Regions from separate parts of the Homo sapiens genome. Here region 2 is linked to region 1. The links are contacts of gene promoters, found by promoter capture Hi-C in blood cells and fetal thymus (Javierre and others, 2016). All regions are on one chromosome and are shown on one strand. The core of a region is centred on a gene start or on the middle of the fragment in contact, and the rest is flanking DNA. Distances in the headings are between cores, read along the strand shown. Region 1 holds the start of RASSF5 (Ras association domain family member 5). Region 2 overlaps LOC105372873 (a long non-coding RNA gene).

Region 1 (3,922 bases), core at 221-2,720:
CAAATGCCGGGGTGGGGGTGGAGGGTGGACACCTATTAAAGGCATACACACCCCTAACTGTAGGAGGAGAAAAATAATAAACCCCCAAGGAGACTGAAGATTGGCTCAGAAAATCTATACACTGGGGGCCCAGTGTTTTCTGGCTTTGAGAAGCGCCTGGCTCAGGAGGTGACTGGAGGGGCCTGAGGGCTGTGGAGAGGAAGGGACCCTGTCAGGAGCTGAGTAATGTTAGAGCATGACGACTAGGGCAGGAACCCAGGAGGAGGAAGGGGAGGAGGCAGGGCACAGCCAAACATTGGAGCAGAGTCCAAAGGTTTGAGGGGCCAGAGGTGAAAGGCAGGAGGGGGCACGGGTTCAGGGTGACTTCAGGCTCTCTTCAGCCTCACAGCCTGCCTTTATCCAAAATCTAACAAGGTCTCCTCCCTGTCCCAATACGTCCCCCTGGAGGAGAGGTCTGAGCCTGTACCATGGGCGGACAAACAAGCGTTTTGTCAGTAACCCTAATAAGCAAGGGTCAAACGGTCATCTCAACAGCAGTCTCACAACCCACTCCCAAGAACTCACAACAAAACCATGAGGGTGCACAGGGAGATGACAGAGGCCGCCGAGGCCATCACCCACCCACCCCCCACAACCTGTGTGCGAGTGTGTGTGTGTGTGTGTGTGTGTGTGTGTGTGGAGGGCCAAGGCACGCACCTGTCAGGAGACAGGTATCTGTTAACTACCGCATAACCATACCTAGGTAGTGGGCAGGCACTAAAGGATACCGGGCAGGGAACTAAGGAGCGGACTGTCCCCAGGGGTTGTTATCTCCTTATGTTCGGGGCTCCCCTGGAGCCAAAGAGTGTAATGGCCCCTCTCTCCCTGCCCCAGGGCCCTCCCAGTCCTTCGCCCCCAGACTGCGGTCTCCCCGCACGCCCCTCCCCTGCCTTCACACTTACTAGTGCAGCGCAGCGCCTGCCGCAGCACCTCTCGTCCGCACAGGTCACACCAGCCGGGGCCGCCCGGCAGCACCAACTCGGCGAAGCAGTGCCCCTCGCCTCGCTCCGCCGGGACTCTGGGATCCTGCGGCTGCTCGAAGATGCTCCGCACGTCGCGGGGTCGGGGCGCTCCAGGCCGCCGCCGCAGTCTCTGCTGCAGACCAGGCCGGAGCGGGCGAGCGGGTCGGGAGGCCCGGGGCGGGGGCTCCAGGTTCCCCCGGGCAGCCCTCCGGGCGCTGCGCCCCTCGCGCGCCCCGGGCGCAGTGGAGAGGGGCGCCGGGACACAGAGGCGCGAGGACCGGTCGGGGGGCGGCGGCGGTAGCTCGGGGCCGCTCAGGCTCTGTAGATAGCGCGGCGGCTCGGGGTCCAATAGTAGCGGGTACGGGCGCTGCCCGATGGCCGGGGACGCCATGGCCATGCCCGGCTAGTGGCGGCAGCTTTGGCAGCGGCGGCTTTGGCGACTGCGCTACTCCCGAGCCAGCCCCGAGAGAAGGGGCCGCCCCACACCAGCGCGCCTTTAAAGGAACCGCAGCCTGCTGGGCGGGGCGGGGGCGGGGAGAGTCGGAGTGGCAGGAAGGACGACCCAAGAGAACCGCCGACGGACCGAAGGGGGTAGGGTCCGTGCCAGGCGACGTCTGCGCGAGTGTGGATTTGGGGGCGTCTTCACCTGGAGCAGCTGCAGGATTCCGCAGAGGAGCGCCTCTGTACAGTACAGCTCAGAGGGCGCATTTCTGCGGGGGGCCCTAGGCCTTCAGCCCTGCCTCTTTCCCTTGCCAATCACTTTCCCCAACACCAGGTTCACCCCCGACCCGCACCCTCACGCGCCCCGGGAGGGAGCAGGTCGGAGGGAAAAGCTTGGGAACTGGCTCGATGGGGTCTGAGTAGGGCCCCTCCGTCTAGGCGTCCGCTCGCCACTCTCCCGCTGATGGTGCCGACAGGAGGGCCGTGCTCCTTGGCCCTTCCTCTCTCCGGCTTGTCGCCGCCCGCCGCCCCCTCTAGAGCGGAGCTCGACGCGGGTCCGGAATGCCCCGCGCGCGCTCCCGCAGCCGCGCTTTGTCCCGTGGGTGACCGCCGGATGCCTCCAAGGGCTGGCAGAGCTGTCCGCGTGCGACTTTCGCTCTGGTTGGATTTCCCCTTCCTTCGCAGCCCTGCCGGGTAGGGTATTCCTCTTTCCTGGAAGACTGGTGGGGGGTGGAGGGGAGTTGGGGGGGCTCCATTGAGAGAACGCTCCCTCGCCCCAAGGGTTGGGGGAGCTTTTCTTCCTTAGCCAACCCTCCGTTCCCCAGAGCTGCTCTAGTAATTACTGTGGAGATACCAGTTCCCCTAAATGCCCTAAGTGGAACCTGGTATGGATGGTTCACTCATGGGACCCAAAGAGAGATCTCCTTTCTCCCGGCACTTTCCCCCGTGAAGGCTTGCTTCAAGCCTTCATGGACCCTTGTCTGGTTTAACGCTCTGCGGTCACCATCTTGAAAGTCTTACTTTTTGAACAAAGGGCCAGGCGTTTTCTTTTTGCACTGGTTCCCACAAATTATGTAGTTGTTCCTGACAGGCACCTTTGCCCATGGAAACAGGCCCATCTTATGGATAAGGAGGACTCCTGGATCTCTGAACCTGGGCCTGGGCCCTGGCCCTCTCTAGCCCCAGTATTGTTAACTGTACATTGGGCTGGAGGTGGGGAGACAGGTGGTTGTTAACGTGGCACTCTCCAGCTCCGTCATTATGACTCAGTGATCACAGCTTTCCTCTTAAAACACAGGTTCGGTTTGGTCCGTCTAGCGGTGGTCATTTTTTAGAAGAATAGTCTAAATTCTTCTGGACCTGGTCTCTCCCTTCTCTTCCCAGGCCAGAGATGGGTCTCCCCCTAGTGCTTCGTAGGGGAATCTTCACTTTTGCTTTTTGTTTTTCCCTTGGAGGTAATTTTTAGGTAATTCCTAAGATTTCCAGAGTCCAGTGGCCAGGGAATTCCCAGCCAGCTTTGCTCCATGGCTTCTCCCTCACGGTAATCATAGTCCTCTGCCTCCCAAATCTGTAGCAGAAGAGAGGTTCCTGGGGCTCTGGGGGCTCACCAGAGGCGGGAGCTCACCCTATGAGGTGGTTTCTGAGGAATGACCCATGGGACAGTCAACCCCACAGTGCTACCAAACAGAGGAGCTCCGATGAGGGGTGTAAGCCACAGGCCACCGCCTCTGCCCCACCCCTCCTCTACCTTTCCTCTTCCCTCTCCTAACCTTGCTTTTGCTACATCAGTGGTTTTCAAACCTTGGTATGCATCACAGTCATCTGGAGGGCTTGTTAAGATTATTGGGCTTCATCCCCAAAGTTTCAGAATCTATAGGTCTGGGGCTGGGGTTTGAGATGGCTCATTTTGAGCAAGTTCCCAGGTGTTGATGCTATTGATCCAGGGACCCAACTTGGAAAACCATTGCTCTAGGTCTGAGGTGGTGATTCTGAGAATGGGCTTCTCTGTTCCTTCTCCCCAGGACAAGTGTACTTCAGTGGACCTGACAGATAAAAGCCCAATGAGGGCTATTCCTGAATACTTTCTGCTGAAGGTGTAAAAGGGAAAATACAATTTGCCCTTGTGGTCTCTTATTTTAATCTCCCACTTTTTCTGCAAGCAGTTCTCTTGGGGTTGTTGCAGAAATCTGTATTCCATATAAATATTTGCTGTGTCCACACTCTGTTACCCATCTCCACACACTTGAGACTCATCCCCTTCCTGGAGTGCAGTGGGTGGGTGAGGTCCTGGGCATGGAAACAGCTTGAGCTCTGAGTGACAGCCTGGTGGGGCAAGAAGCAGCAGGGATCTGACAACAAGTGCATCCCTGGAAGATCGGCTTTGAAAAGCCATTTGTGAAATAATTGCTAACAGTCTCCATCTCTGTCCTTCCCTGCAGCCTCAAAGCATGGTTTGGGCAGCCCAGCCCAGATTTCCTGGA
Region 2 (3,907 bases), core at 1,103-3,602, 360 kb after region 1:
GAATGGGGAGAAACATAAAACTGGCTCAGTGTTATAGTAAAGCATTAGAGTAAAATGAACATCATAAATGCAATCCTCGATCATGTAATGAATTAAAGAAAATATTTGTTTTTAAAATCATGTGTTATTATATACTTTGTGTGATAGCATTTGTCATTCTTTTTTTTTTTTCTAAGCTCTCTAGTTGCTTTGAATACTCTTTATATTTGGGACTCTCCCATCTAGTGAGTCTGCCTTTTGAAAATAGAGGCCAAATTTTCCCAGATTCCCTTGAAGTGAGGAAAAATTGTGGCACAGACTCCACCAATCAGTGCTCCTGCATGTGATTTCAGTGTGGAAGACTGAAGTCATGAAGACGGGGTCCTGAGGGAATCCCTTCAGGTGACAGCAGAGAGGCAGCAAAGATACATCCAGTTTCCAGAGAGAATCAAGGCAGGGGCTTGGCATAGCATCCCTGCCCACTATTCGGCCTGTGTTGAGTGGCAGGGACAGCGGTAGCAGTATTGGTTCTGGCTGCTCAGCCTCTATGCTTGGTTTTCTGGTTGTGTCTCCTAGAGATTATGCTAATAGCCTTTTAATACAGTGGTCCTTCAACATTTTATGTGCGCACTCCCAAAACAAATGTAATGAAGCTGGCTTTCTAGAGTGTTCAGGTCATTACACAGTAGTTTACAGCTTAGGAACATTTTGTTCTACATAAGTAAATGTTCTACTGTTAAAAATGTAGTTTAATCTATCTTGTGGAAATAAATAGCAAAAGGAAAGGCAGGTGTTGAAGCTCTGGTAAGTGTGCTGATTACAAAAGATACAGTAATTATTATTTAAGTGCATTATTTTCAGTTGAATTCACAACATATCTCCATTGAATTAATCTAAATCTAGTAAGTACATACTTTGAATGACTAAACCCACAAAGTGGTTGATGAGGAACAGCAGGAGAATGTGTCCAAGTAAAAACTGAGTATGGTTTTATGACATCAATAAGCTTTTGGCCAAAATTAATGACAATTTTTTTACAAGTCTAAAGGAGCATTTATGGAAATATAGAATGCCACTACCTACTTTCAATTGCTTTTGCTAACTTGAAGATATAATGTTGATCTGTTGGAAGTAAATGTGTGACCTCACCTTCTCTTTGAAATAATGCAAAATAGGCAGGGCATAGTGGCTCACACCTGTAATCCTAGCATTTTGGGAGGCTAAGGCAGGAGGATTGCTTGCGCCCAGGAGTTTGAGGCCAGGAGTTTGCAACATAGCTAGACCCCATTTCAAAAAAAAATAAAATAAAATACAGTAAAATAAAAATGTAACAATGCAAAATACTCAGCTGACACATGGGTGAACACAAGTGAAATTTTATAGCATGTTGTTATTCTCTGACATGCTTCAGACAAAATTTAAATATCTTAATTCTAAGATGGATAAAAAGACAGGAAGGAAAGGAGGCAGGGAGGTGGATAAGGCACAGAGTCTTGTCATAAGTTTGTCTCCAGGATGGAATGAGCTCTGGTAAGTTCTGTATTTTGTACTGAGCCTCTCTACTTTGCCCTCTCAGAACTCTCCTATAGTAGCAATGCATTATTTGATCATAATTAGGCAATGCAAAAGGCAAGACCCTTCAACAAAATTTGCCATAATTCCTGCCACTTCACTCCTCAATATACATGAATTCAGGATGTCCCCAAATACCTTGTTTCTATATTATGCTGCACCCTTATCAAAAATATAAAGACAAAAACATGTAGCCTTAGTGTAGGATTACAATTTCTTGACTAAAGGAGGCTTCCATATATTGAGTTGTTCTACAATATCATGCTGCAGGTAATTACACCCCAGTGGAATGCCCCATAATTAAATTCAGGAAGCCTTAAACATGTGATAATCATTTATTCATTCATTCATTTTTAATAAAATGGAGAATGGGAATTGTGAAAGAGGAGGTGGAAATGATGAGACAGTATGACACCTTGACCTCACATATGCAATAAGACATATTAATTTTAAGAAACAGGCTGGGCGCAGAGGCTCACGCCTGTAATTCTAGCACTTTGGGAGGCCAAGGTGGGCGGATCATGAGGTCAGGAATTAGAGACAAGCCTGGCCAACATGGTGAAACCCTGTCTCTACTAAAAATACAAAAAAATTAGCTGGGTGTGGTGGCACACGCCTGTAGTCCCAGCTACTCGAGAGGCTGAGGCGGAAGAATTGCTTGAACCCGGGAGGCGGAGGTTGCAGTGAGCTGAGATTGCGCCATTGCACTGCAGCACTCCAGCCTGGGCAATAGAGGGAGACTCCGTCTCGGAAAAAAAAAAAAAAAAAAAGGCTGGGCACGGTGGCTCACACCTGTAATCCCAGCACTTTGGGAGGCCAAGGCAGGCGGATCATGAGGTCAGGAGATCGAGACCATCCTGGCTAACATGGCGAAACCCCGTCTCTACTAAAAAAAAAAAAAAAAATTAGCCGGGCATGGTGGCGGGCGCCTGTAGTCCCAGCTACTCAGGAGGCTGAGGCAGGAGAACGGCGTGAACCCAGGAGGCGGAGCTTGCAGTGAGCCGAGATCACGCTACTGCACTCCAGCCTGGGCAGCAGAGCAAGACGCGGTCTGAAAAAAAAAAAAAAAAAAAAAAAAGAGTACCTTTGGAATTTAGGAAATTGAAAATTGATTCTCTAAAAAATCTAAGATATGGAACCTGTTCTCCAAGGCTGGAAACTGACAATCCATATGTGAAATCTCAATCTCCAAACACAGAACCTGAAGTCCTATATGAACTCTGAACTTTCAGGAACTGATTTAGGTCTTCTTGGTGTTATTTCTCCTTTTCCAAGCATACAATCTGGTCCTCCACATGAGAAGCCACTGTACAGGTCCAGTGGCTGGACCTCCAAGCATTGAACCTAGGCCTCTAAGCATGAAAACTTGCAACACAGGTATAAAATGTATCCCTTTAAACACAGAACCTGTCCCTCCATATATAAAATCTGACTTTCCAAACATGGAATATCTCTCCAGGTGTGAATCCTTCCTTTCCAGGCATAAAATACGACATGTGTGTGTGTGGAACCTGGGCTTCTATATGTGGATCCTGGGCCGCTAGCATGGAATCAGGCCTTCTAGGCATGCCATAAGTTACTGCTTTATGAAACCTCTTTGTCTAAGTTGGATCATGGTCTTCCGTGGGTTGAACCTGAACCGCAAGTCATGGCGTCTGGCCCATCAGGTATGGAACCTGGCCATCTTCCAGGTGTTCCATGACCCTCCGAGTATGGAATCTGTACTTCTAGAGATGAAACATGGAGTTATGAGCATGAAACCTGATTCAAAGAAATGTAATATGGCTCTCCACTTTGGGAACTTGGCCATCTGTGGGTAAAACCTGAATTTCTGAGTAGAAATGTAGCCTTCCAGGCACTGAATTGACTCTCCATTGGTAAAACCATGCCTCCAGGCACAGAATCTGCCACTCTATGTGTGGAATCCCAATATCCAAACATGGAAGTTGGCTCTACAAGCATGAAATCTGGCACTCCATGTATGGAATCTCAATTTCCAGAATGGATTCTGACCCTAAGAGCATGGAACCTGACACCCCATGTAAGGATCTCTATCTCCAAGCATGAAATTTAAACTTTCAGGAATGGAATGGAACACAATATGTGGAATCTCAATCTCCCCATATGGAACATGGCTTAATAAGTATATTGCTTGGCACTCCAGACATTAAGCTTGTGTCTCAGTCATAGAAGTTGGTCGCCCAAGACATGAAACCTGGTGCTCCCCATGCATGGAAGATGGCACTTCATGTATAGAATCCAAGAATATCCAAGACTGGAAACATGCAACAGTCATGGAACTTGGCATTCCATGAAAGAAATCTCAACCTCTGAGCAGGGAATCTGGCCCCAAAAG

The links. The method cuts DNA at HindIII sites, captures the fragments that hold promoters and counts their contacts. A CHiCAGO score of 5 or more calls a contact.
Region 2: a fragment that was not itself captured here is called in contact with the fragment with the promoter of RASSF5 in region 1 in 1 of 17 cell types (endothelial precursors); the score reaches 5.2 in endothelial precursors.

What each region holds. Positions count from the first base shown.
Region 1 is chr1:206,505,079-206,509,000 of GRCh38, reverse strand. It overlaps RASSF5 (Ras association domain family member 5), which reads right to left and starts at 1,470. Exons shown (of 6, transcript NM_182663.4): 1 at 942-1,470. The coding sequence starts at 1,398. It overlaps LOC124904493 (a long non-coding RNA gene), which reads left to right and starts at 1,594. Exons shown (of 2, transcript XR_007066830.1): 1 at 1,594-2,135; 2 at 3,881-3,922. RefSeq lists silencers at 1,065-1,154, 1,195-1,554, 1,805-1,854. The HindIII fragment of the contact is 3,877 bases long and covers 1-1,836 here.
Region 2 is chr1:206,150,344-206,154,250 of GRCh38, reverse strand. The region is part of intron 1 of LOC105372873 (a long non-coding RNA gene); the gene reads right to left. Among named protein-coding and RNA genes, the nearest start is that of AVPR1B-DT, 35 kb to the right of the region's middle. The HindIII fragment of the contact is 2,738 bases long and covers 984-3,721 here.